Linked DNA regions of Homo sapiens: regions 2, 3, 4, 5, 6 and 7 are each linked to region 1. The links are contacts of gene promoters, found by promoter capture Hi-C in blood cells and fetal thymus (Javierre and others, 2016). All regions are on one chromosome and are shown on one strand. The core of a region is centred on a gene start or on the middle of the fragment in contact, and the rest is flanking DNA. Distances in the headings are between cores, read along the strand shown. Region 1 holds the start of EPS15 (epidermal growth factor receptor pathway substrate 15). Region 2 overlaps OSBPL9 (oxysterol binding protein like 9). Region 3 overlaps OSBPL9 (oxysterol binding protein like 9). Region 4 overlaps OSBPL9 (oxysterol binding protein like 9). Region 5 overlaps TTC39A (tetratricopeptide repeat domain 39A). Region 6 overlaps OSBPL9 (oxysterol binding protein like 9). Region 7 overlaps OSBPL9 (oxysterol binding protein like 9).

Region 1 (3,628 bases), core at 590-3,089:
TAAATAGAAGCTAAAAACATGGTATTACCCAGGGAGAGAATAAAGTATGCACACAACTGAGAAGCAATTTTACGGAAGTCTTTAAGAGCACAAAATCTTCAAGGGAAAACTCCTGCCAGAATTGGCCAACAGAGCCAGAAAACAACAGCCTGCCAACAGGGATCTTGTTTAATGCAAGTCACTAACTAGACTCACAGAAAGTGAATACCTAAAAGTCAGTGCTGTAGTTGTTCAAATTTGAGTTTTGGGAGGACCCTTCCAAACATACATAACCAAGACTAAACCACCACATTCCATGTTAAAGGGTTCTCTGCTTGTCAGAACAGGACAACCACCACCACCATCAAAAAAACTGGGAAATAGACTTTCCTTATGACACTTAGAATTCCTGCAAACACGGGTTAGTTATTTTACATGAAGCATGTACGTGACTCCTGGTTTCTGAGAAAACATTTTTTTCTCTCTATCCTACAGTGCTAGGCAAAGCACCCCAAAGCCTCTTGATTTTAAACACAGAAAACTCCACTGCCGAAATGTTTGCCCTATCCCAGCGCTAAAGCCTTAGAAGCACCGACGAATCTAGGCCAAGGAGTACAAGATGGCAGTGAGATACCACAATGCAGGCAAGGAAGACGGGATGGGCCCCAATCGGGAAGCACGCGCCACCAGCTCTGGAGAGAACCGTCTGAGGAGACGCGGGGGAGAGTTTGGGTCACAGGAGCAGGAAGGAACTGGCAGGTGTCTGTCACCTTATCATCCCGGACACCATGTTTACATTGTAATTGGCTTCTTTACAGAGAGGGAGGGACCAGGTTCCCAGTGTGAGTGATGTTTAGAGGTTTTCTGAGAAGCACAAGGACTGGACTTTGACAGGAAGCAACGAGGCAAGAGGGAAGCTCGAGAACAGGTTTTGCTGAGGATTCCCCCCAAGAAAAGTGCTCCCCGGGAGGCCGTTCCTGGCACCAAGACTGGCGGAGCCACCACACCCGTTAAAGGGATCCACCTGGACAGCGATCAGGCGTGAGCCCCCCGAGGGGAAGTTGAAGTGGAAGCAGACGTGGGTGGCAAAAGGCTGCATTGGGGGTCTGACCCAGAAGGAAACCTGATCAGGAGGGGGGAGAGGCTGAACGGAGGAAGGGGCCGGCAGAGTGGGTAGTTGAGTAGGATGAGACTTCTTTGGAGGCGAGGCTAACTACATTAAACTCTGGGAAGGGAGGGCTTCCGTCGGACCCTGGGAGAAAGGCAGGTCTGGAGAGGAAAGACTGGCTTGGGGGGCCTGCGCGTCCGGCTCTGGAAGGCAACTCCTACTGGGGGCGGCGCGCAGCCGGCCTGGCGGGCGAGCCTCGTGCGGCCCGGGGGTGCGGCCGGCCCGCGCGAGCTCAACAGGAGCTCACCTGGGATGCGTGCGGCCCTGTGGGAGGAAACTTCCTGGGTAGGTGAAAGCTGCCCCGCGGGAGCCGGCCCGGCACCGGCAGAGCGCGGCCGGGTCACAGTCCACTCGGCAGCGGCGCGGAGGGCGGCGAGGGCCGCGCGGGGCGGGGCAGGAGGCGCCCGACGACCCTGGGCGAGGTCGCGGCGGCCGCAGGGGGGCTCCGGCTCCGGAGGGCGCCCTCCCGCAGTCGCACCCGCTTTCCCTCACACACACCGGCCGCCCGGCCCACAAGCCAAGAAGCTGCCTGCTTGGCCCACAAGCCAAGAAGTCGGCGAAGCTGAGGGCGGTGGGGGAGGGGGCACCGGCCGGCCAAGCCCGGCGGACGGGCGTGTGGCGTTACCTGTGTCAGAGAGAGCTGGGCCGCCGCAGCCATGGTGTTTCCATCATGCAAGGGAGGGGAAGGAAGACGGGCTGACTGGGGCTCGGGGCGGGGAGGAGGCGGAGGGAGCGGCCGCAGGCGAGGCCGGGGCGGGCGGGCGGGCGTCTCCCCTAACTTCCACAACTTCCCTCCCCACGCCCGCCCCGCCCCGCCTGGCCCCGCCCGCCTGCCCGCCCGCCGGAGCCGGCCGCGGCGCCGCCCAAACCCTGGCGCCGGAGTCTCGGCCACCGGACCAGAGCCTGCCCCCGGGGCCGCCTTGGAAAACCCGGCGCGGACATAAAATTAAAGCGGACGGGCTGCGGAGGCGACTGCAGATTGACCTGTGAACTTCAGACAGGCCACCTACCTACGCTGAGCTCCTGCTTCTGAAAAATGGGGGAAATTGTAACTAGAGGCCCAGTTACTTACAAAGACTAAATGAGATAATGATAGAAAATAATAATGGCACTTTATATATGCCAGGCTCTGTACTAGACTCTTATTTTTTGAATTGTATGAATGAAGGAACTGAAACACAAATAAGTGTCTTACTAAGGTCATACAGCTAATTATATAGCTGAATTAGAATCCAAGTCTAACTGTAAATATTTAACCATCTGCTAGTATATTGGAAAAGAAGACATTAAGTCATTCCCTCCCACAGCCAAAATCCATTTGGAAAGGGGAAGCAAAAATGTATTTGCCTGGTGCCTGTCACATTTAGATTGTTTAACAAGGGAACGCTGGTGCCTGTAGCACTCCTAGCTTCTCCCATCATCCACTTAGCAAACTCCTCCTTCTTTCTCAGGACATAATTCAAGTTTCACCTCCTTTGCAAAGTATCTTTTTCTCTTCCTTATGTCAGAGTTACACACTCTCCTTTATAACCTTTCTTCTCTACCTTGTGAAGTCATCACCCTAATGACAGTTTACACCTATCTATCCCTCTAGATTAAGAGCTCCTCAATGGCAAGAACTGTTTTCAATATATTTCTATATCGTCAGACCCTAGCATTACAGTGCATGCTCAGTAAAGGCCTTCGTTCCTGCCTATATTAAACATAACACATCCTACACCTTCTGATGCTGCCAACCTTCAGTTGGAATACCCAGTTACTTGAAATTCATCTTCAAAGTCTCAGAGTATATACCACCTACTTCAAGAAGCCTTCTAGGAACTCCACACCCCACCTCTAAGTTGTTCTGATGTGACCGTTTTTATACTCTGCCTTATCTGTAAGCGTTAGTTGAGGGTTTGTCTCCACCTCACTGCACTGTAAAATCCTTGAGGACAAGGGGCTGACTCACTGCTTTATCTCCCTCATAGTTTAGCCTACCACAGAGGCCTCAATAAATGTATTTGCCCGAATTGGTCTTAATTTCTTAGTCACGATGGCTTCCCATTACAACAAACCACAACTCTATCAGGCCTACACCCATTACCATTATCATAGCAGTCCCCGTGGTAGGAGGGACAACTGAACAAGACCCAGGATGGAGTTAGCCCCACCTAAGTTTTTAGACTATTGCCTCCACAAGCAAACCATTCCAGAAATTTCCCAAGGAACTCCTAATTCTACTCAGACTCCTTCTGGCAAAGGCCAGCTAACAAGAGCAAGCCATATAGGTCTGGTGAGTAACCACTTATTCAAGAGCATCTTCCTTGGCTTCTTTTTTGCTGCTAATCTCTTTAACTGAAGAGAGAATAAGAGATACTGTTTTACATTACTTCACTTTGGTACACTTATCAGCCATAACCACAACCGGTGTTTCTACCGGTGTTTTCTACTTTATATTAGCACATTTGAGCTTCACAACTCTAAAAGGAAGTAATCGTC
Region 2 (3,913 bases), core at 57-2,556, 200 kb after region 1:
TATAAACACAATGGAATACTATTCAGCTGTGAAAAAGAATGAAATCCTGTCATTTGCAATCCTGTCTTGAATAGAACTGGAGGTCATGATGTTAAGTGAAATAAGACAGGCACAAACTTCACATGTTCTCACTTATTTGTGGGAGCTAAAAATTAAAACAATCGAACTCATGGAGCTAGAGAATAGAATTATGGTTACCAGAGGCTGGAAGGGTGGTTGGGCGTATAAGTGTAGGGGGAGTGGGGATGGTTAATGGGTACAAAAAAATGAGAACGAATAAGATCTACTTGATAACACAACAGGGTGACTATAGTCAACAGTAATTATACATTTAAAAATAACTAGAAGAGTATAATTAGATTGTAACACAAAAGATAAATGCTTGAGGTGATGGATACCTATTTACCCTGATGTGATTATTACTTATTTCATGCCTATATCAAAATATTTATACTCCAAAAATATATATACCTACTATGTACCCACAAAAATTTAAAAATTTATATATTGTTTTTGCTATCACCTTTAGAATTTCTTGTCATTGGATAGTTCGTCTGTATACCATTCTGGTCTTCATTCCCCAGGGCCCCCGTTGTCTGATTTTTCTGCTTCTAGAACTGTTAGAGGTCACAAAAGCAAGATGGTTGTATCTATCACAATTTTTGTCTGACTTTAACTGGGTATCTGTTACGATTTAGTAGTCATCTTACTGACTTCTTGTTGGTTTCCAATTGAATCCTCACAGTAGACTGTTTTCATTGTAATCAGTATCGAATTATAGCCTGTTCCCTTCTTCATAAATGAAGGCTTTCTTCTTCAACAGTTCTTAGTGACTTCACCTGTACTTTATTTCTCTGCTTTGAATATTTCGAAGAAAACATATTCTTGCTCTTTCCCAAGGTTAACACTACATACATTACCTTGACCACAGGATGTTTTCTTGCAGATTGTGACCTAATTCCATCACCCTTCAGCAGCCCCCACCGTTTTCATGGATTCAGCTAAACCTTCTGTAAGATGACTCTTTTTCCCCCTAATCTTTATATCTCTTTTGATATGTAGCTTTAGTCTCACTTTTTTTCCTTTTGGATTTTGCCAGTTAGATGTCTCCCTGGAATTCCACTTCAGCATGGCTAAGACTAAGCTTGTCTTCTCTTTCCTCCCCAAAGCAAATTGTAATTAGGATAGACTGAAGGTGACAGAAGATAACTAAGATCTTCTTCATCCTTTCGGCTCTTATGGAAGCTGAATTCCAGTAGTCATTCTAAATTTGTTGTATGTCAGCTTATGGTATCTTTTCATGTCTTTACATTCAGCCAAAGAGGAAGTTCCTTGAAGGGGAGACCAGAGGGCGTGCTGTGCTTCTTAATCCTCTCTTTCTTAACCAGTAAGAGGCATTCAGTAGATATCTGATGATACTGATTAATAGAGGGGAACTTTTCAGATTCTTTTTTTTTTTTAACCCTAGTAAGCTTTAGTACAAACTAAATGCTGAGAGATTATCAAGTAAGGGATTGATCATCACAAGAAGACTCAGGATGTTACATCCTGTAGGTTTTATAGTTTCCTATATTGTAAAAAATATGAGTTATAGCAGCTTGTCTGGATGTCATACAGGTATAAAAATCAGTTTTATAAACTTGAGTAAATTGGGGCCCATTTTAGAAAAAACTCTTGCAGGCTGTGAATGCCAATATATAAGTAAAGTATTAAGTATAATGTTATTTAATGTGGGCAAACATAAAGCCAGGTGTAAATTTTTTAGGTTTAAAATCTTATAGAACTATACATCCAAAAGAAAATTTCAAGTTAAACATAATACAAAGCAATACAATCTAAATTAACATTAATTTAATGTGATGAATGATATTGCCTTGCTAAAAGTGGGTCACTACTTACAATGTGCAAATGGTACTCATCGTTAGGGTATAGATTCTTTTAAACTATGACATACGTACACTACCATGTGGAACGTGATGATGTGTTCTCTGTTCTAACTACTGGGAAGACTTCCTTGGCATAGCACATGCCATGGGGTCAGTTGGCTTTGACTTCATATAGATATGCCATTTACTTGGTCAGTGTCACTTCTATGACAAGTAGTATGTTGTGCCAGTTTGATTATAAGTACAAATATGGGCAATGAAGTAACTTGGTTTTAAGGTTGTTACTAAGCTGAGTAACAGTGTGTGGCTATACAAATTTTTATAGGCTATCAGGAATGAAAACACAGGAGATTGTTGTAGATTCAAGTATTTTAGATTCAAGTTTGAAGATGCTCATGCAGATGTTTAACTGAGTTGTATAGACCTTTATGTTTCTTTCTTTTTCTCTTTTTTTTTTTTTGAGACAGAGTCTTGCTCTGTCACCCAAGCTGGAGTGCAATGGTGTGATCTCGGCTTACTGCAACCTCCGCCTCCCAGGTTCAAGCAATTCTCCTGCCTCAGCCTCCCAAGTAGCTGGGATTACAGATGTGCACCACGACGCCCAGCTGATTTTTTGTATTTTAGTAGAGGCGGGGTCTCACCATGTTGTCAAGATGGTCTCAATCTCCTGACCTTGTGATCCACCCACCTCTGCCTCCCAAAGTGCTGTGATTACAGGCGTGAGCCACCGCGCCTGACTGACCTTTATGTTTCTTAACTTTATGCTATACATCAGTTGATATTTCAAAAATTTAAATGGTTTCTATGATTATTCTTTGGGCTAAGAAATTGGGCATTAATTGTCCTCATATGTATGGTTTTTGTGGCTACTTCATGTAGATTTTATTTTTGGTGGTTATCAAATTGGAATTTTTTTTTTTTTTTTTTTTTTTGAGACGGAGTCTCATTCTGTTTCCCAGGTTGGAGTACAGTGGTGCAATCTCAGCTCACTGCAGCCTCGACCTCCCAGGCTCAAGCAGTCCTCTCACCTCAGCCTTCTAAGTAGCTGGGACTACAGGCACGCACCACCACACCTGGCTAGTTTTTTGTGTTTTTAGTAGAGATGGGGTTTTACCCTGTTGGCCAGGCTGGTCTTGAACTCCTGGCCTCAAGTGATCCACCTGCCTCAGCCTCCCAAAGTGCTGGGATTAGAGGCATGAGCCACCACACCTGGCTGAAATTGGAATTTCATTGGTACTGCCTGTAATTTTATGTTAATTTTTTTTTTTTTTTGTCGTCACTAGCTTTTATCTAAAGCCCCTAGAGAGAAAGGCCATGATACCTTGTATACAAGGTTATAAGAGTATACAAGGGAAAGGGAGGGCTGAAGGGAACAGGGTGGGCTGGTACAAGCCTCATTAGAAATACCATTGAGTCTGTGAGTAAAACATCATTATATGAAAAGGAGATGTGGTTTTAGGGTGGTCCAATTACTTTTGCACCAGCCTAATAAAATTACAAGTCATTATCAATAGAGACATTGTAAAACCTTTTTTTTTCCCAAAAGAAGTATCAGGTATGATAATTACATGTCTGCCCAACTTTCGTTATAGATTAACATAACTTAATTGTATTTAAGGTACAATTTAGGAGAGTTGCTGAAAAATGAATCTTTAGTATTGGGATGCCTTGATTCTACCCTCAATAGCTATAATGGATTATGTGTCTGAGTAGATTAATAAAAATCTTTTGAGCATTTTTCTTGAACTACTTCACTGAAGATTAGCTTTTTGAGCATCCATTTTAATTTCTCAGTATATAAGGATCGGTTTATCACAACTGTATTGTTTTCCCTGGCCTTGTTAGATTATATTTTCATATCATGTAGAAAAATAGGTGTATTCGTTCTCCCTTGAAGTCCTTTGTCTCCCAAAGGAAATGGTTGCAATACAGATGTGTCACCTCTTCCACAGGTAAAGTGGAATGGAGAAGTAGCCAGTTAAATAGTGCATGCTCAATTTGGAACATTTAGAGCATACAGGAAAGTT
Region 3 (3,917 bases), core at 612-3,111, 250 kb after region 1:
TCCAGCTAGACTTGCATACTTTCTTATTATGAAGCTGACACAGAAGTGCACAGAATAAAAACTGCAAGTCCTCTTTACTCTCCCCCCAGTAATTTGCATACATGTATGTGCATATACACTTATGTCGTGTATTTTTATTGTTTTTGTTTAAACCTAACTTAGGTTATGTGTTTCTGTGACTTGCGTTTTTCCTTTAACAAAGAACACTTAGAGCACTTTCCATGTTTGTAAAATTAGGTCTACAGCATTCTTTTTACAGCTGCCTGGGCAGGTATTGCTTGTTTTTTCCACTGATGGAAGCAATACTTCAGTGATATCCTTGTACAGCACCTTTGGCATATGTATATTTTTTTAGAAAACATTTATCAGTCTTTCACCTTTTTGCCAGTTTTATAGTTAGAAAAAAGATACTTCATTTTAATTTGCATTTTCTTTTTGTTTGTTTAAACGTTTTGTTTTTTGTTTTTGAGATGGAGTCTCACTCTGTTGCCCAGGCTGGAGTCCAGTGGCACTGTCTCGACTCACTGCACCCTCCACTTCCTGGGTTGAGGTGATTCTCCTGCCTCAGCCTCCTGAGTAGCTGGGATTAAAGATGTGCGCCACCACGCCCCACAAATTTTTGTATTTTTAGTAGAGACGGCATTTCACTATGTTGGCCAGGCTGGTCTCGAGCTTCTGACCTCAGGTGATCTGTCCACCTCCACCTCCCAAAGTGCTGGGATTACAGGTGTGAGCCACCGCGCCCAGCCTGCATTTTCTTAATTCGTTTAGGCTTAGGGTCTTTATTTTTTCTCTGTTTTACAGGGATACTATCAGTGTTAGATACTAGATTTATCTTGTTTTAAAATTAATTAAATGTATGTTGAATAACTTGTAGAACCAAACTCAAGGAAGCATCTAGCACTTTTCACACTGTTAAACCTGGAAACCAAAACCAAAACCACTCTTGAAGAAGTGGGAGATCAGCCCCTTTTGTTCATCCTCAGATTTTTTTCCCGGGTAGGATTTTTCCTGTGTAATGATGAATAATTACCCTGTGATTTAAAAAATTCGAATTAGTAAAAGTACTGATGCTATTACTTTGATCTTTACTATTTAACAGCATGGGCAGTTGCCTTTGAATTTTGAAAGAAAAAAAATAGCTCTCTTACTTGAAGCTCTTGGGAAAAGGCTGATAAGCAATTTGAATAATGAAATTGAAATATTTTGGCTGACTTCTGTATTTCCTGAGCTGTGTCACCTCTTCTTCATTTAAAAAATAGTACCTGTTTGTTGTTGTTCGTATTTTTATGTTGGAATTTTGAAACAACCAAAATTCCAAAATTTTTCTGTTTGGAAATACGTAAAACTAGCAACAGACTTTGAGAAAGTGAGAAGCTCTTCTTATGTATATTAATTTTTGTAAAAATTACTTCCAGAAGATAATCTTCTGAAAACTATTTCAGTTGAAGGTATTTCAAAAATCTAACACTTTAGAGTAGATTTAAAGAAAAATTTAAAATTAAATTCCTGTGATTTATATCTTATTTGATTTTTCATCCTAACTTCATTTTCTCCACTTTTCTTTCCCTTACTTCTCTTGTTAATACAAAAAAGAAATAAAGGAATAAGATAAAATGTTTGCTCTCCTAAGTAAATCTCAGATCTTTTGTTTGCAGTTCCCACTCAAACTTTTCTTCTTAGATACAGTTTCACTTGTGTGATCACCTGGAATATTTGCATGCTACTTAATCATTTGCAATTCTTGATCAATTTTTTTTTTATTCCAATAAGAAAAAGCTGCTTTTCTCTCTTACTTTTTCTGTTGGGTAATAAAAAGAATATGAAGTTATTTACTAATAAGGTGAGCTACCTTTGGAATTTCCAAAATAAGCATTACCTTTTAGGGGTTAAACTTTTTGTGTTATCTTTTTAAAATACCTTTGTGAATATGATGACTAAATGTGGCAAACTGATGTGCTTTTTTTCACAACTATTGAACCATACATATAGGAATGGGCAAAAAATCCGTAAGTGACTCTGGATTCTTTTTTTTTTTTTTTTGAGACAAGGTCTCACTCTGTTTACCCAGGCTGTAATGCAATGGCACAAACACAACTCACTGCAGCCTCGACCTCCTCAGATTAAGTGATCCTGCCCCAGCCTGTCGTGTAGCTGAGACCACAGGCACATGCCACCATGCCCAGCTAATTTATTTATCTATTTTTTTAAGAGATGGGGCTCTCACTTTGTTGCACAGGCTGGTCTTGAACTCCTGGCCTCAAGCAGTCCTCCCAACTGGTCCTCCCAAAGTGCTGGAATTACAGGCATGAGCCATTGTGCCTAGCCTGGATTCATTTTTATTGCTGTCTTCAATTTCTTCCAGAACTGTGGCCCTGGCTTTCAGATTGCCATCAGTGTCTTAATAAACTTTAGTCTTCACCAGACATCTGTAGATTAGTATAAATTGCCTGACTGACAGCCCTTAAATGCTCAGTAAGTTAAATTGATCTTAATACTCCATTTGTCGATTGGTTTGATACTTTTTTGTTCTTGCTTTACTAGTAGATAAGGTACCAGATGATCATCTCAGAGATTAGATGGCAGGCTTCTTTGTCTGGGTCTTCATTAATTTCCATTTCTTTAGTTAGACTATTTAGGAATAGAAAAATGTTCTTCTGAATCTTTTCATTTTCTGCATTCTTCTCATCGTAGTCCTCTATTTTTATCTCCACCTCTGAGCCCCTGACTTAGGTGGAAAAGAGGAGAGGAATTTGGATGGTGTGTGTATTTTCCATGTGATTGCCAAAAAATATTGAATGATAGGAATGTGATATCCTGCAATATTTTAATGTTTATGTGGTCTTAATATTCTTTTCATTTTGCATTCCCAGTGGCTCACTGCTGCATTTTTAGGTATCTGGATCTGCAGTGTAAAATAAGAGTCCCGGCATCCCATTGTAATCATATCTGTTGTTGGACTTGCAACTCCACAACTCATATAATCAAAAGGGCCCCCTTCCTAGTATTAATGATAATCTTTAATTATAGAATGAGGACATAGCTTTTTGTTTCATTTATTTAAAAGGCTGTGTCCTCATTTTATATCATGATTTGCCATTTTCTGTGTGGAGTTTAAATGTTGATTTTCTTTATAAATACTGTAGCGACTTTTACAAACTTAACCAAACTCTTTTTTGATTTTAGAAAAGTCTGCTTTGACTCCATCTCCCTAGTTTCTTCTCTTTCACCAATATTTTTCTCTAAAACCCTTTTAACTTCCTAGGCAGTGGCCATTCACCACCGAGTAGCAGTCTCACTTCTCCAAGCCACGTGAACTTGTCTCCAAATACAGTCCCAGAGTTCTCTTACTCCAGCAGTGAAGATGAATTTTATGATGCTGATGAATTCCATCAAAGTGGCTCATCCCCAAAGCGCTTAATAGAGTGAGTAGATGAACAGAATATGTATTTAAATGATTCTCCTGATTTTTAAAAATCTAATTTGATTTTGAGACTAGTGTTAATGACAGACTTGCCTCATCAGTTATTATTTGGGAAAATTAAAAGGGCAACCTTTTTAATAGAAGTTTTTTTATTGATGTATAATAGTTGTATGGACAACTTGTTTTTGGTTGGCTTATTGAGCAAAGCCAGTTCTGTGAGAGTTTTGATTTTAGTCCTAAGTTAATCCAAGTGGAATAAATAGCATCACCTATAGTAATGTGCCAGCGTTATTAGTTGAACCCTGGCCGTTTCTACAGTACCAACATTAGGAGAGGGTCCAATGAGAGTGAATAAGCTATGAAGCATTATACAAATAAGAGGTTTCTATTACTTTTTTCTTTTTTTAATTAGAGTGGAAATATTCAACACCTATCAGCCAGGCACTGTGCTAGGTTGATATCAAGGTTACAAAGATCCAGGCCCTGCCCACAG
Region 4 (3,657 bases), core at 453-2,952, 220 kb after region 1:
TTTCTCTATAATTGTTGTGTATAATTTAAACTTTAAATGAATTCATACAGGAATCATCTAATTAGAGCTGTGGCTCACATCAGTGTAATAAACCAAAGAGCAGCAACCTCTTTGGTCCTGAGTGCCAATAATGCGACATAATCCCTTCAGTTACTACTGAAGGACCTGGACAAAAGAGAAAGAAAGACAACATGGAGAAAAGGCTTGAGGGAGTAGAGAATAGGAGAAAGAGAACAGAAAGGTAAGAGAAATCTCGGGAGAGGAGGTCGGGGGAAGACCGATGTTGTGGCATCAACAATTTCCAGTCACTGTAGCCAGCGCCATGTGTGTTCATTTAACACTGAGCTGGCCCTGATGGGTATAGTGATGAATGAATGGCATAGTTCCTGCCCTTGTGGAGTTTTAATCCTTCAGAGAAGTCACTCAAATATTCAATTATGATAAAATGTGATAAATGTTAGAGCAAGTACAGAATACTAGAATGTGTATCTACTTGACTCCCAGCTTACTTGTTCTCAAAAGCTACTGTAAGAAGTATGAAGTCACACTGTCTGAAAGAATTTGCCCTATTCTCAGTTCTTTTCAAAGACAGACCACCCTCAATATGGTAAAGGACTATATTCTTAGTCCTGTTTAAAACTCGGCCGGGCGCATTGGCCCACACCTTGTAATCTCAGCACTTTTGGGGACACTGAGGTGGGAGGATTGCTTGAGCTCAGGAGTTTTTATTTTATTGCGGAGACAGGGTCTTGCAACATAGCAAGACCCTGTCTCCACAAAAAAAGTAAAATAAAAAATTATCTGGGCTTGGTGGCACATGCCTATAGTCCCAGCTACTTGGGAGGCTGAGGTGGGAGGATTCCCTGAGCTCAGGAGGTTGAGTCTGCAGTGAGCCCTGATTGTACCACTGCACTCCAGCCTGGGTGACAGAGCAAGACCCTGTCTCAAAAAATAAATAAAAATAAATCTCCATTAAAAAGGATTAATATGAATAAGTGTTGTGGCTTAGTGTTCTAAATGTTGAATGGAAAGAGAAACAGTTAACACTTCAGGAGAATTTTAATGAAATATTCTACATTAGGAAGTAGTGGGTTTCTCATCTCATGAGATACTTAAGACAAGACTAGATGACTTTCAAAGATGTTATGAAAAGAACTTCTGTGAATGGGAGGTTGAATTAGGTGACTGCTGTAAGTCACAATATAAAGTCATACTTGTGCTTTCTTCTAGAGTATTAGTTTTACTAGATTTGAGAAAACACTTGTTAACTACTTGTTCATGTTATCGATGAATTTTACATGATATTTTATTGGTTGCAGATGGGGCAACTATATACATAAATTTTCCTTTTAAATACATGAAAAATTTTTGCATTACTATGCAAGGGTGATTGGGCCAGTTCTGGGACTGTCATTATAAACCTCCTGTTACACATTACCTAAAGAAAAATGGATTGATGAGTAGATCTTTGGCTTGGACCTTGTGAAGTGTGAAGTTTATTCTAGAGTTAAAAGAAGGTTATGGAAGACTATCTAGAGGCAAGTGTAAGAAGAGAGTCAAGGTGAGGTTTATATGATTCTACAAACATCAAAAAGTTGTTTCTGAAGAATTGATTTAGGTAAGGTTTAGATAGCAGTAATTTAAATCTGTTTCCATTCAGTCACTGAACAATTTTTAATCTAATCGGTAATTTGTTTAAAAAGGATGTTTTAGTTAGATTTTTACAATGTTAATTCTAAATGGATTCAGAAGAGTGAAAATACTTAAAGATCACTTTTCCCCTCTCATTTAGATGCTTTTTTTATTCATTTATGAATATGCCATTAACCTTTTAAAATATTTACTAAAAACAATGTATTTAGCTGATTTTAACTGGGTCTTGATAGTTAATTATTGATAATCATGTTACATTGCTGTGTGAAACAAAACCAAAAAACAAGCCAAACAGTCCTGATTTTTCTGTGGCACAGTAACATGGAAATAAGTTGCTCATTTCTTTCATAGTACAGTACTCTAATATCTATGAAATATGATGTACTTATCCATTTCTATGTCTTTTGTCACCAAACTGTATATTTTAAATGTCTCTAACAGGAACTTCTTTGGGTTATCTTTAAAAATGAAGAAGTTTAAACACAGTTTTATAAATATATCTGGATTTTGTATACATTGTTTATTAAGATTTTTTTTTTCAACTTTTGTTTTTGTACATGTCATCTCATTGGGAAGGGGCTTTGTAATACTCATTGTCAAACAGTTTCTTGATATGTATGTAAAATAGACATTTATCGCCTTTGAATTTGAAAAAGAAAACAAATTATGAGATAAGTTGATTTTTCCCATGGTCTTAATAGGACTTAGATTTTTAATAAAATTCTATTTTTTCTTTGGTTCCAAATTTTTGAATTTTAGTTTGGGAAGAGCAACAAAAGTACTATAATAGTAGTAATTGATAGTGTCATTAGTTGTTGTCTTTAGTAGAGGTAGTAGCTGCTGTACTAATAATAGGAGGAGGAGGATGCCCGTATTTGGCTGGCAAGAAAACCCAGATTTGGACAGCCACAATATTGTGTTAGTGAATGCACTAGAATTAGAAACCAGATTTGCCAGCCCATTACTGTTTCCATAATACCATACCATCTTAATTTGATGTTTTGAGATAATGGTTGTAAAAGTGCTTTAATGATAAAGTATACAAAGATCAGGTGTTGCTGTAATATAAAATAAACTTTGGCTTCAGTTTACTAAAATGAGAATGTGAAAATAATCAGCATGCTTTGGGCGAAGGCAGGGAGGAGATGACAAGTGAAAGTCAAGTGTGAGATGGGTATGTTGATCAAGTATATTTTACCCATTTAGTGCAGAATTTTGTGGTTGGGTTGGGATTTTTACAGTAGCAGTTCCTAACCCTCAGTCCCCTGCTTAACAGTATGATGACTGGGCATGAAAATGTGGCAGTCAGAGAAGATTAAGAACTCAAAAGTTTCTTTTGGCTAAAGTTAAAACATAAGAATCCCATGCTCTTGGAGCTTAAACTCTTTACGTATGCAAAAAGTAGGACATGCAAATGCTGCACTTTTAGACCGAGAAATAAGTAGGCCTTCTAAATAAATAAACATCTATACCACGTCTAAGTGTAGTGTTCATGCCAAGGGTGAAAGTGAGTAGGAAACTTGATTAGGACAGGTGTTGTTACTTTCACTTAGAGAGGGGCCACCTCTTAGAAGAGGAGAAAATTTAGAGGTTCTTTCTTTAGTAGGGGAGGAGGGAGGAAAACTTCAGAGATCATGGGGTGGGTTGAGGAATGGGAGAACTAAACAGTGAGAATATGAAGTTAACATTAAGGGAAGGGAGGAATGAACTGAATGAAAAAGGGGAAAATAGAAGTAACCTAGGTGGGTTTTGTTTATGTTCCTTTGTTAAATTACTGTTGTTCTAGTGGTGACTGGGAGCCAATTACAGGGTTTGGGGGAGATAAGAAAGTGATTCTGGAGAGAAGAGTAAATCCAATTTGAGCAGCAGCATGTGTAACTGCTGAGAAGGGAAGCAGTGCTCCAAGTTAATGAGGAAGATTGATGTACCACTGTTTAAATAGACCTAACTGTTAAATAGACCTATTATTTGTGTCAAAATAGAACTGTATTTTAAAAATTGAAA
Region 5 (3,552 bases), core at 727-3,226, 210 kb before region 1:
ACAAGGCCCTTATTTTACTAAAAAGAGGCTCAAAGAAGAGAGGGACTTGCTCAGAGTCACAGAGAAAAGGGGATGAGGCTGGACTGACCCAGAGCTCCTAACTTCCAGGCCAGTGCTCCTTCTACCACACTAGGCCTCCTCCACCAGAAAGCCCTCCCTGATCTGCTGCCTTCAACCTGGGGTTGGTACTCAGGTTCTTGCCCTCAGTAAAGTCTTTGGGTGCTTGAGTTCTCTGGTTCCTCCTCAAGGTCTGATGCCCAGTAGGGCTTCCCTCAGGCATCTGCTGGATGAAGTGGTAGCACCAGAAAATGGTCCTTGGGGGAAGGACTTACTCAAAGTCTTAAAGTGAGGCAGTATCTAGGGAGAGAGGGACCAGCCCCTGACACCTGTCAGGCTCAGAGAATGTGTGATCCTGGGCCACTGATGGAGCTGCCCTTCACACCCACACCCACCCAGAGCCTCTGCACCCTGGGAGGGCCAGGCAGGGATCACTAGCCCCATTTGTCCAGAGAGAAGACTGAGGCCCAGGGAGGTCTGGGCATTGTCCAGGGCCATACAATGAGAGGGGCTGAGCCAGGATGGGCTCCTAGGCCCTGTGGCCTGTCAGCCCCACCCTGTGCAGCCCAGCCCCAGTTCTGGGGCTGAGCAGGTCAGGGGTGCTAGGAGGCAGGTGGTTACCTTGTTTCCTGAAAACCCCACAAACTCCAACAGCCTCAGGATCCTAGTAGGAAGCATGGACAGTGTCTGCAAGAAAGGAGGCAATCAAGCCTGTGAAGGTACCCAGAGTGGGCAGGGGCCACCCCCACTGTCCCAAGTCTAGCTCTTTAACAGGCTTTACCTGGAGGGGAGAGGGCCACCCCTCTAACTTTGAAAGCCTCTAGCCAATGTTTTCCAAAGCTCGGGCAGTAGATGGCAGCTAAGATATCAGGGGTCCATGGGCAGGTGCCAGGAAGCCTAGCCAGGAAACCCCTGGCCACCTAGGTTCCTGAGGCTAAATCTTCCCTGGGAAGCTCCTCCTCCCTTGATCAGGCAGTTTTCCCAGCCTTCCTGCTCCCTCTGCCTGGAAGCCCCTCCCCAGCTGGGAAACTCCTAGGGATCCTTCAGGAGCCAGCACAGATGCTCACCCCCTCCCGTAGGAAACCTTCCCCCACTCCATGCAGGAACAAGACTTAGTTCTCTGTCCCCTCTAAGTCATCAGCTGGTTTCAGGACTGTCTCCTTCCCTGACACTGGTAAATGTTTAACCAGCAGCTCTCCAGGGCAGAGAAAGCCCTGATTTATTGTGTGTGCCAAGGTCGGGTGCTGTGAAGGTTCCACCATGGTGGATTTCAAGCTACTGGCCTGACTTGGGAAGAAATGCACCGATGGACTCTGGAGCTGGCTCCAGCGCCCACACCACCCCCACCCCAGCTGTGAGCCCCTGAAGGCTGGCCACATGTCTGGTCACCTCTGGATCCTGGTGCCCAGCACACAGCCAGGTGCAGGGGCACTTGGCAGTGACCACACATGAGTCAGGGACAGAAGGGGAGACTGAGCTCAAGCCAGGTGCTGTGGAAATGGAGGAGGAGCACTCACCAGGTTGAAGGCCCCTACACCAAGCTTCACTCCTCCTTCAAAGTGCGGGTGGTTCTCACCCTTGCAGTATTGTGAGGACTGAACAAGGCTGTCCAGCTCCCTGCAGAGAGATGCCAAGTCCTGTTTCAGCCACTGCTGGGGGTGGGGGGTAGGGGCTGGGACCCCTTCCAGCTGGGCCTCAGGTAAACTCCCTGGTGGTGGATTCATACAGTTCTGGTAATCCTGAGAGCTGGTATTTGAGGAATTTCGAACCCCATCTCCCACCATGATAACACACTCCTCACCCCCTGAATTTCAGCCGTATGGGCCCTGGCACACTCAGCCATGGGCAGCTTCTGGACATTTGTTCGTATTCCACATCCTATCTAAAAGAGGTTTTCTCAGCCTCCGCGCTACTGACATTTTGGGCTGGATAATTCTTTGTTGGTGGGGGTGGCAGGGGAGCTGTTCTGTGCATTGTAGGATGTTTAGCAGCATCCATGGCCCCTGAGCACCAGATGCCAGTAGCATCGTCTCCCTAGCTGGACATCCAGAATGTCTCCAGACACTGCCAAAAGTCTCACAGGGGGAAGTCACCCCTAGCTGAAAACCACTGGGCTAACCAAAACACCTCCTCCTTCAGGAAGTCTTCCTGGAGTCTCCTGGTTGGAATTCAACTCTATTTCTCCTGGTTACCAACTGCACAGAGCCCCTAGCCCAGCCACCTGGGGCAGGACAGAGGCTTTTAATGATGTGTCTGCCTCCTTCCTGGGCTGACAGCATTTTGAAGGCTTTCAATTAGCAAGCTTGAAGCTTCTCTGTGCCAGGCACTGGAAGACAGCAGGGACCAAAACCACCAAGCCATTGCCCCCACAGCATTCTCACTTTAAGGGACAGACCCCCCCCCCCCGCCCCCCGATTGAGTCACTATGAGGGTGATGACAGGCTCCAAGGAGAAGAGTCCTTGGGCCTGACTTAGTCTGGGGATAGGAAAGGCTTCCCTGAGGAGGTGACATTTGAGCTGAAATCTGGTACAGAAAGCCCGGTGCAGAAAGTGTTTCTGACAGAGAGAACAGCACGTCCAAAGGCCCTGAGGTCGGAACCACCTTGGCATATTTGAAGAACTGGGGGAAGGCCCAATGACCTAAGGCAGAGTGAAGTGGGAGATGTGGCAAGAAGGGCCAGGGTGACCTCCCAGGAAGAACTTGGCAATAACCCAGGACTTCTTTTAAGAGCAAGAGGAGCCTTGGGAGTTGGCAAGGGGTGGCCTGACAAGGTGTGTGCTTTGGTGACCTCGTTCTGGCAGCTGGTAGGGAGGCTGACGGGGCCAGAGCACTTGTCTGGTTTTTCTAGAAAAATTCTAGCATAGGCCTCCAAGGTAACATGATGTCCACATGCTATATGGTACATTATACCCTAGCAATACCTTGTAACAAGCTCACAATATCCCTGCAGGGAAGCAGCCACATTAAATGGGGAGATAAAGATGATAAATAGGCCAGGCGTGGTGGCTCACGCCTGTAATCCCAGCACTTTGGGAGGCCGAGGCAGGCAGATCACCTGAGGTCAGGAGTTCGAGACCAGCCTGGCCAATGTGGTGAAACCCCATCTCTACTAAAAATACAAAAAATTAGCCAGGTGGGGTGGCGTATGTCTGTGGTCCCAGCCACTCGGGAGGCTGAGGCAGAAGAATCGCTTGAATCTGGGAGGCAGAGGTTGCAATGAGCTGAGACTATGCCACTGCACTCCAGCCTGGGCGACAGAGCAAGACTCTGTCTCAAAAAAAAAAAAAAAAAAAAGACTTTTTTACTTTTCCTCTTTTTTTCATTTTGTTTTTACTGTGATAAATATACATATCATGAAATTTAACATCTTAACCAATTTTAAGTGTACAATTCAGTGGTATTAACTACATTTACATTATTATGCAACTATCCCCAATATCCATCGCCATGAATTCTTTTCCTCCTGTAAAAGTAAAACTTTATTCTCTGTCTTT
Region 6 (3,544 bases), core at 280-2,779, 180 kb after region 1:
TAATTTAGTTTGTCATTTGTTCTTTGTAGTAAAAATGATATTCTGTTAACAAAGTGCCCATTAGTTCCCAACTCAGACATTTGCACAAATGCTTTTCCTTGAGATAACCGTTATACTTTAGTGTGTAGCAGAAGTACTTTATATGTGCTTCCCATTTGTCACAGAGACTATGTATTAAATATTTACTCGAGGGTCAAAATTTGATGATGTTTACTGCTTTTCTTCAAGGGCATTCTTAAAAGAAATAGTAATGTTTTATTTTTCCCTGCAAGCATGTAGTGGTAAAGAATTTAGTGACTACCAGTTCTGATTGGTGCCATTGCCTTGATTTGTGCTCGTGTGCCAGCAGTTTTACCACCATTGTTCTTACAGCATCATTGCAAACATGACAAACGCAGATTATGTTTCAGTATTAGTACGAAAATAGTTTTGCACTGAGGACCCCAATCTCGTTGGATTCCCAGTGTTATTACATACCTTATTTCCCCTGATTTTCACAGTGGAACCATGAGGTAGTTGGTGATATTAACCCCTTTTGGACCCAAGTTTCCTGACCAGAGTTTCTGTCGTTCATTCTTTCTGTTTGCTATAATATCTCCAAACTGTGGAAAAGTTTATATTGTTATTCCTTAAGAAGAACTTTGTTCAGCGAAAACAGAATGGGATGGGGTGAGTTTATTTAACGGAACTAGGGGTGTCTGAAGCCTAGAGATTCCATTCTCATTGCTGCTTTTTAGGTGCTATGTCGTTGTGAAATACTAAACTTTTCTGTTTCCTTATTCTAGAAAATAAGGATAATAATAATACCTATCTCATGTAGTTGTTGTGAAAATTTAGTTAATACATGTTATATGCTTAGAACCGTGCTGACACAAATTAAATGCTCAATAGGTTTAGCTTTTATTATTTACAGTTAGAGATGGGGCTCAGGCATTCCAGCTGAGGGAACAACTTGAGCAAAAGCAGAGAATCGTGTCATGTGAACAGTACATACAATCTAACAGAATGTAGTGGTTCATGGAAGAGTATGTGGGAAAGTAAAACCGGGAAGGTAGATTTGGACGCTGATTATTGCTGGACTAGAGCTCTAAACTGTTGATCCAATTTGTGTCCCTAATGCCTAAGACAATGACTGGTACATGGTGTATGTATTTATATATTGCCTGAGCATTGGAATATTTGAATAAATTTAAGGAAGGAGAGAGCAGCTGCTCTCACCATGAGCAACATAGGTGGAGAAAGTGACATTGTAGCGTAGCCCAGAAGAGTGAATAGAATTCTAGTAAGCAAAGATATTAGAGGTGTGAGACAAAGCAGCAAATTTAAGAAAATGAGAATGTTTGATGTTTGCTTGTTCTACTTGCCAGAATTTCACAAAATCCCTTGCCAACAAAATTTCACAAAGGCCCTGACTCAGTGACTGAGCACAGTCCTCTAAAAACAACAACAACAACAACAACAAAAAGCCCTAAAGACAATAAATAAGATAGAACACAGTTTCCCACATCTCCAGCTTAAATCACTGCATTTTTAGAAAAGGCAAGTTCAGTGATTCTAGTCGTTGCCTCTTTCTGCACGTAAGATAATGTCCAACAAGATTAGTGATTATGCCTCCGTAATATATAACCAGATATGCCCTTACACCCAAACTTTAATGAGATTTTGCTCTACTATAACTTACAAGCACATACAAAACTGCCACCACCAATTTATAAACTGTGTCTAAAACCCTACTTTGAAACAGTCTAACAAAAATTCTCTAAAAGACTCTCCTAGGTAACAGTCCTCAGTAAGACTTCTAAATAAAACTAACTTTAATTCTTTAAAAGCTCCCCTGTCCCGTTTTTTTTTATTTTTTATTTTTATCTTTTTTGCTTAGTTGACAGAGGCTGATAGAATGGGTGAAGATAGTTGGGATATAGGCTCATGCCTATAATCCCAGCTGCTTGGGAGGCTTAGGCAGGAGGATCCCTTGAGGCCAAGAGTTCAAGACCAGCTGAGCAACATAGCAAGACCCAGCCCCACACCCATCTCTAAAAGAATAAAAAATTAGCTGGGCGTAGTGGCTTGTGCCTGTGGTCCTAACTACTTGGGAGATTGAAGCAGGAGGATCGCCTGAGCTGAGGAATTTGAGGTTGTAATAAGCTATGATCATGCCACTGCTCTCCAGCCTGGGCAACAGAGTGAGACCGTATTTCTCAAAAAAAGAAAAAAAAAAGAAAGAAAAAAGAAAAAAGCGTGAAGATAATACCTCACCAAACGATATACTACCCACCCAAGTTATTGTACTTTTCAGGAGACTTAATTACTTGAGATCATGAATTGTTTTATCCTTGCTCATATACCAAACATAGTACCCCGTGCATATTGGGGCTCAGTAGCTACCTGAGCAGTGTCTCAGCAGTTAATCTTGTAAATGTGGTTTTTGTGTAATGTTTTTATTTCACAATAACTTTCAGAGAAAAGGAGGCCTTCCTGATTATAGGGGTTACTTTTTTTTTTTTTTTTTTTTTTTACTTAAATTGCAGAACAGGCAAATAACCACTTTATTTTGTATACAGGCAGTAATATATTCACAGTTGTTTGTGTCTTAAAGGAGAAGATATGACTTTAGGAGGACAGATTCCTAAGCAGTGGATCAGGAATGGTAAGGTATAGGAGTTTTAGAAAGTTGTCCTAAAAGCTACTTCTTGTAGTTTAGGTTGTGTGAGTTACGCTGGAAGAGTGAAATCTTTTGAATAACTTCATATTCTTATTCAAATGTGTATAATATAGAAAATGTGATTAGATATGTAATAAATGAGCAAAGATGATAAAATCCTGAAAATGTATTCTACATACTAGATAAATACTGTTTTCCTCTGTGCACCTTATATTGTTTCCATATAAACCAGGCATTATTGAGAATTAGGAGTTACCAGTAATCTCCTCTCTACTAATTTTCTCTGGCAAATTGTTCTCTGGATTAGTAGAACTAGTTTTCTCTGTTGGATTGATAGAACATGTGATAATAATAACATATTGGTATTTTCATGTATGTCAGGCATCGTGGTAAATATTGTACAGATTATCTCATTTAAATCTCACAACCTTATAAGGCCGAGGTACTGTTACCATCCCCATAGGTAATATTATCATCCTTAGATTATAGATGAGAAAAGTAAAGCTTAGAGAATTTAAGTATCTTGCCCAAGGTCAGAATGAATAAGGTCAAAGCTAGGTATCAGACGAGGATTTGGACCCAAGAGTCAGCCCTCTTGGCCTTTACACTGTGCAGCTTAAGAGATACTAAAAAGCAACAGCTTTGTGGGACATTGGGGTGGCTTAGAGTAGTGTTTTCTGAACTGGATTGCAGTCCATTAATGGATTATAAAGGTCTATTTAGTGGGCCCAAATCAGCATTTTAAAAAAATGAATTACAACAGACAGAAAAATATCAATGTGTATGGCATATAATAAGAGCAAGCACTCTTTTATGAAACGAATGTTCCAGTTTATATGTATATGTGTATGTACACATATGTACACATATGTGTGCATATGT
Region 7 (3,532 bases), core at 551-3,050, 150 kb after region 1:
GATATAATTTATTCAGAGCTGCTTTAATAACGATGCTGTCCTGAAATTTTCTACTATATTTAACTTCATAAAACATTTTAAATCCTATTATGAAAGCCCAGAGTTTTTATTTTTAAGTTAAATATGTAATGCTGCCTATAAATCAGCAGGTAATTCCTACACTCTGGAACTCTTTACTTGAATGAAGTTGAATATTTTAATGCATTTCAAGAAAGAGCTGCTGGGTGCAGGTAAGGCTGCAGTATGGAATTCTCTTCTCTGCAGTTACTAAGAAGGAGACACCTCCTTTGGACCCTCAGAAGCTGTACCTCTACCTTCTGATTTACTTTTAAATTATTTATGTCCCCTTTGGCACTCTCATACTTATTTGGCTTATAAAACAAGAAATATTCCTCAGGAAGGATTTAAATGATAAGAGTTATGCACATTTTAAAAATGGATTCATAGTTCTGAAACTGTCAGAATAATTAGTTTATTTTCTATTGTAGTAGTTATGGGAGTTTTAGCATGAGATCTGGATTTTGCAAAGAACTTGGTAAGACTGTATTTTTTTTTCGTTAATGAGAGCTATTTCACATTCATAGGTCCTTGATCATAAAATCCCTGCAAATTTGATACAAAGTTATCAGTGTCTGAGAGATCTTAAATTCTTGATTAGAATTGAAAGCAAATTTTAGCTATATATGTGAACATATCTTTAAATGTGCTGAAGTTTTTATTGAATACACCAGTTTTTTTTTAAGCAAATGAAATATCAGTTGATGCATTATAAAACAAATTCTACTGTCAACTATTAAAGGGAAAGCTAGAGTTTGTTCAGATACATTCATTTATTCATTCAACATCTATTTTAGACATTATTCTGGGGATACAGTGGTATACAAAACAGATAAAATTCCTTGCCCCTTGAGTCATCCATTCCAGGAAAGGAGAAAGGTAATCAACACGATCAACATGATAAGTTAGTAAAATATAAGTAAATGAGAGTGATAAGTCCTGGGGAGAAAAAAATAAAATACGAAAGGAGAAAATGAAATAGAGGTGAGGTTGCAGGGAGAGGGGAAGTGTTGAAATTTTAAATAGGGTAGCTAGGGAAAGACTCACTGAGATGGTGCCTTTTTAGTGAAGAGCTGAAGAAAGTCAGGGAACAAAGTATATGGCTATGTTGGTGGGGGAGGTGGGGTGAATACATCATTTCTTTGCCTGGAATGACGTACCCACCCTGCCTTCCTCCCCAACACAGTCATATACTTTGTTTTGTTTTTCTTTTTGTAGTTTATACTCATATATTTGAAGAACAGCTAGAGGTCAGCTCTGGCTGGAGTGCAGATAACCATGGGTGGAGAGTAATGGAGAATGAAATCTGAGAGGACACAGGAAGTCCAACCATATGAGGCCTTTATAAGGGCATTGAATTTGACTGAGATAAAAGGCCATTAGAAGGTTTTGAGCAGAGGAGTGACATGGTGTGATTTATGTTTTAACAGGATGACTCTGGCCACTGTGTTGGGAGTAAAATTCAGAGGGGCAAGGACAGAAGTAGGGAAACTATTTCTGCAGTAAGAGGCTGTTGTAAACCAGAAGAGAGGTGGTAGTGGCTCCCACATGGTAGCAGTGGAGATGGGGAGATAGTGAGAAGTGGTCGAATTGTGTGCATGTTTAATCACCTTTATTGAGGTGTAATTAACATACAATAAAATGTACACAATATACAGTTAGGCATTTTAATCAGTTTATTTACTCATGACTACCACCACAATCAAGATATAGATTCCATCACTCCAAAAGATTCCTTTATGCTCCTGTCAGTCAGTCCCCAGCCCCAGCCCCCGGCCCCAGGCAACTACTTTTCTGCTTTCTATCATTGTAGAATAGATGTTTTGTTAGGAGAATTTCACATAAATGGAATCATACCATATGTACTCTCTTTTCTGGCTTTATTTTAGCTCAGCATAATGTTTTTAAGATTCATCTATGTTGTTGTATATATTAATAGTTCCTTTTATATTGCTAAGTAATACTTCATTGTATGACAGTATATTTATTCTGAAGGTTGAGCTGTAACATATGACAGAAAGACAAGTCTAGGTTGAGTAACAAGAATGGAGTTGCCATTAACTGAAGTGGAAGATTGCAGGAGGAACTAGTTTTGGGAGGGTGAGGGAAATGTGGGCATCAGAGCTTAGCTTTGGACATGTTTACTAAACAAGTTTTAAATGTCCACCAAATAGGCAAATGGAGATGTCAAGTAGGCAGTTGGAGTTCAGTGGAAAAGTTTGGTCTGCAGAAATAGAGTTGGGAGTCATTGGCACATAGATGGTATTGAAAGCCACAAGAATTTGGGAATAAATGTTGAGAGAAAAGAGGTCCAACTACAGAGCCCTGGGGCACTCAAACATTTATTGAGAGGGCGCAAGATGAGGTAAAACCAGCAAAAGAGATTGAGAAGAAGCAACCAAAAAGGAGGAGGAAAACCAAATGAATGTGGTACTTTGGAAGCCACAAGAAAAGGTGTTTCTAGGAGGAGAGAAGGATCAGCAACTATGTCAAATGCTACTGACAGATCAAATAAGATGAGGATTGAGAAATGATTACAGGATTTAATACTGAGAAGTTTATTGGTAACCTTGAGAAGAGTGATTTTAAGATAGGAGTGGAGACAGTGCATTCAAGTTTTGATGTAAAGGGAAGATGAGAAATATAGCAGTAACCGGAAGGGGAAATGGGAGCAAGGGAGCTTTTGTTTTGTTTTTGTAGGATAAGAGAAATAATAGCATTTCTATGTTGTTGGCAGTGATTCAGTAAACAGGGAAGAATTGATGATGCAAGAGAGAAAGGAGAGAGTTGCTGGATCAGTGTCCTGGAGAAAGCAAGAGAGAATGGGATCTAACACACAGGTGGGAGCAGTGTCTTTGGCTTGGAGCATGGGCAGTTTATTCATAGTGTTATAACATAGCTGTGGTTGTTGATGAGACCTTAAATAGATTAAAGCAGTGATAATAGGGAGGAAAATGGACTAGATTTGAGATTTTAAAAAATCTATAGGAACTGGGGCACAGTGGTATGCACCTGTAGTCCTAGCTATTCAGGAGGCTGAGGCCAGAGGACCACTTGAGCCCAGGAGTTTAAGACTGTAGTGTTCTATGATCACACCTGGTGCATAGCCACTGCACTCCAGCCTGGGCAATATAGTGATGCCCTGTCTCTAAAAAAGTTTTTTTTTTTTTTTTAATCTGTAGGAACTGGTAATTGCTCAGAAATGGGAGGTGAGAGAATTTGGGTACTAAGGGTGATGCTCTTGGCTTGGCTTACTGTTGGATGTTGTCAACTCCTTCCTTCCTTCCTTCCTTCCTCTCCCTCTCTCTTTCTTTCCTTTGTTTTCTTCTTCTTCTTTTTTTTTTTTTTTCAGGGCCTTGCTCTGTCACCCAGGCTGGAGTGTAGTGGCATGATCATGGCTCACTGCAGCCTCGACTTGCTGGACTCAAGTGATCCTCCCACCTTAGCCTCCCAGGTAGCTGGAACTACTAAAAAA

What was found. The method cuts DNA at HindIII sites, captures the fragments that hold promoters and counts their contacts. A CHiCAGO score of 5 or more calls a contact.
Region 2: a contact is called between a fragment that was not itself captured here and the fragment with the promoter of EPS15 in region 1, in 2 of 17 cell types (neutrophils and M1 macrophages). The highest score is 6.5, in neutrophils.
Region 3: a contact is called between a fragment that was not itself captured here and the fragment with the promoter of EPS15 in region 1, in 9 of 17 cell types (monocytes, neutrophils, naive B cells and 6 more). The highest score is 7.7, in monocytes.
Region 4: a fragment that was not itself captured here is called in contact with the fragment with the promoter of EPS15 in region 1 in 2 of 17 cell types (neutrophils and monocytes); the score reaches 7.4 in neutrophils.
Region 5: a contact is called between a fragment that was not itself captured here and the fragment with the promoter of EPS15 in region 1, in 1 of 17 cell types (endothelial precursors). The highest score is 5.7, in endothelial precursors.
Region 6: a contact is called between a fragment that was not itself captured here and the fragment with the promoter of EPS15 in region 1, in 1 of 17 cell types (neutrophils). The highest score is 7.1, in neutrophils.
Region 7: a contact is called between a fragment that was not itself captured here and the fragment with the promoter of EPS15 in region 1, in 1 of 17 cell types (neutrophils). The highest score is 5.5, in neutrophils.

What each region holds. Positions count from the first base shown.
Region 1 is chr1:51,517,427-51,521,054 of GRCh38, forward strand. EPS15 (epidermal growth factor receptor pathway substrate 15) reads right to left here and starts at 1,840. Exons shown (of 25, transcript NM_001981.3): 1 at 1,773-1,840. The coding sequence starts at 1,805. EPS15-AS1 (EPS15 antisense RNA 1) reads left to right here and starts at 846. Exons shown (of 5, transcript NR_183651.1): 1 at 846-1,020. It also overlaps a transcript of OSBPL9 not described here. RefSeq lists an enhancer at 1,095-2,023 and silencers at 1,254-1,723, 1,874-2,063. The HindIII fragment of the contact is 8,390 bases long and covers 1-3,628 here.
Region 2 is chr1:51,717,998-51,721,910 of GRCh38, forward strand. All of the region lies in intron 4 of OSBPL9 (oxysterol binding protein like 9), which reads left to right. Among named protein-coding and RNA genes, the nearest start is that of OSBPL9, 100 kb to the left of the region's middle. The HindIII fragment of the contact is 328 bases long and covers 1,143-1,470 here.
Region 3 is chr1:51,762,557-51,766,473 of GRCh38, forward strand. OSBPL9 (oxysterol binding protein like 9) reads left to right here. Exons shown (of 24, transcript NM_024586.6): 12 at 3,266-3,425. Among named protein-coding and RNA genes, the nearest start is that of MIR761, 72 kb to the right of the region's middle. The HindIII fragment of the contact is 4,533 bases long and covers 1-3,917 here.
Region 4 is chr1:51,741,790-51,745,446 of GRCh38, forward strand. All of the region lies in intron 4 of OSBPL9 (oxysterol binding protein like 9), which reads left to right. Among named protein-coding and RNA genes, the nearest start is that of MIR761, 93 kb to the right of the region's middle. The HindIII fragment of the contact is 6,462 bases long and covers 1-3,657 here.
Region 5 is chr1:51,304,403-51,307,954 of GRCh38, forward strand. TTC39A (tetratricopeptide repeat domain 39A) reads right to left here. Exons shown (of 18, transcript NM_001297663.2): 7 at 1,575-1,674; 8 at 679-744. Among named protein-coding and RNA genes, the nearest start is that of TTC39A-AS1, 23 kb to the right of the region's middle. The HindIII fragment of the contact is 761 bases long and covers 1,597-2,357 here.
Region 6 is chr1:51,694,962-51,698,505 of GRCh38, forward strand. The region is part of intron 3 of OSBPL9 (oxysterol binding protein like 9); the gene reads left to right. Among named protein-coding and RNA genes, the nearest start is that of OSBPL9, 80 kb to the left of the region's middle. The HindIII fragment of the contact is 3,269 bases long and covers 1-3,164 here.
Region 7 is chr1:51,670,675-51,674,206 of GRCh38, forward strand. The region is part of intron 3 of OSBPL9 (oxysterol binding protein like 9); the gene reads left to right. Among named protein-coding and RNA genes, the nearest start is that of OSBPL9, 55 kb to the left of the region's middle. The HindIII fragment of the contact is 5,089 bases long and covers 1-3,532 here.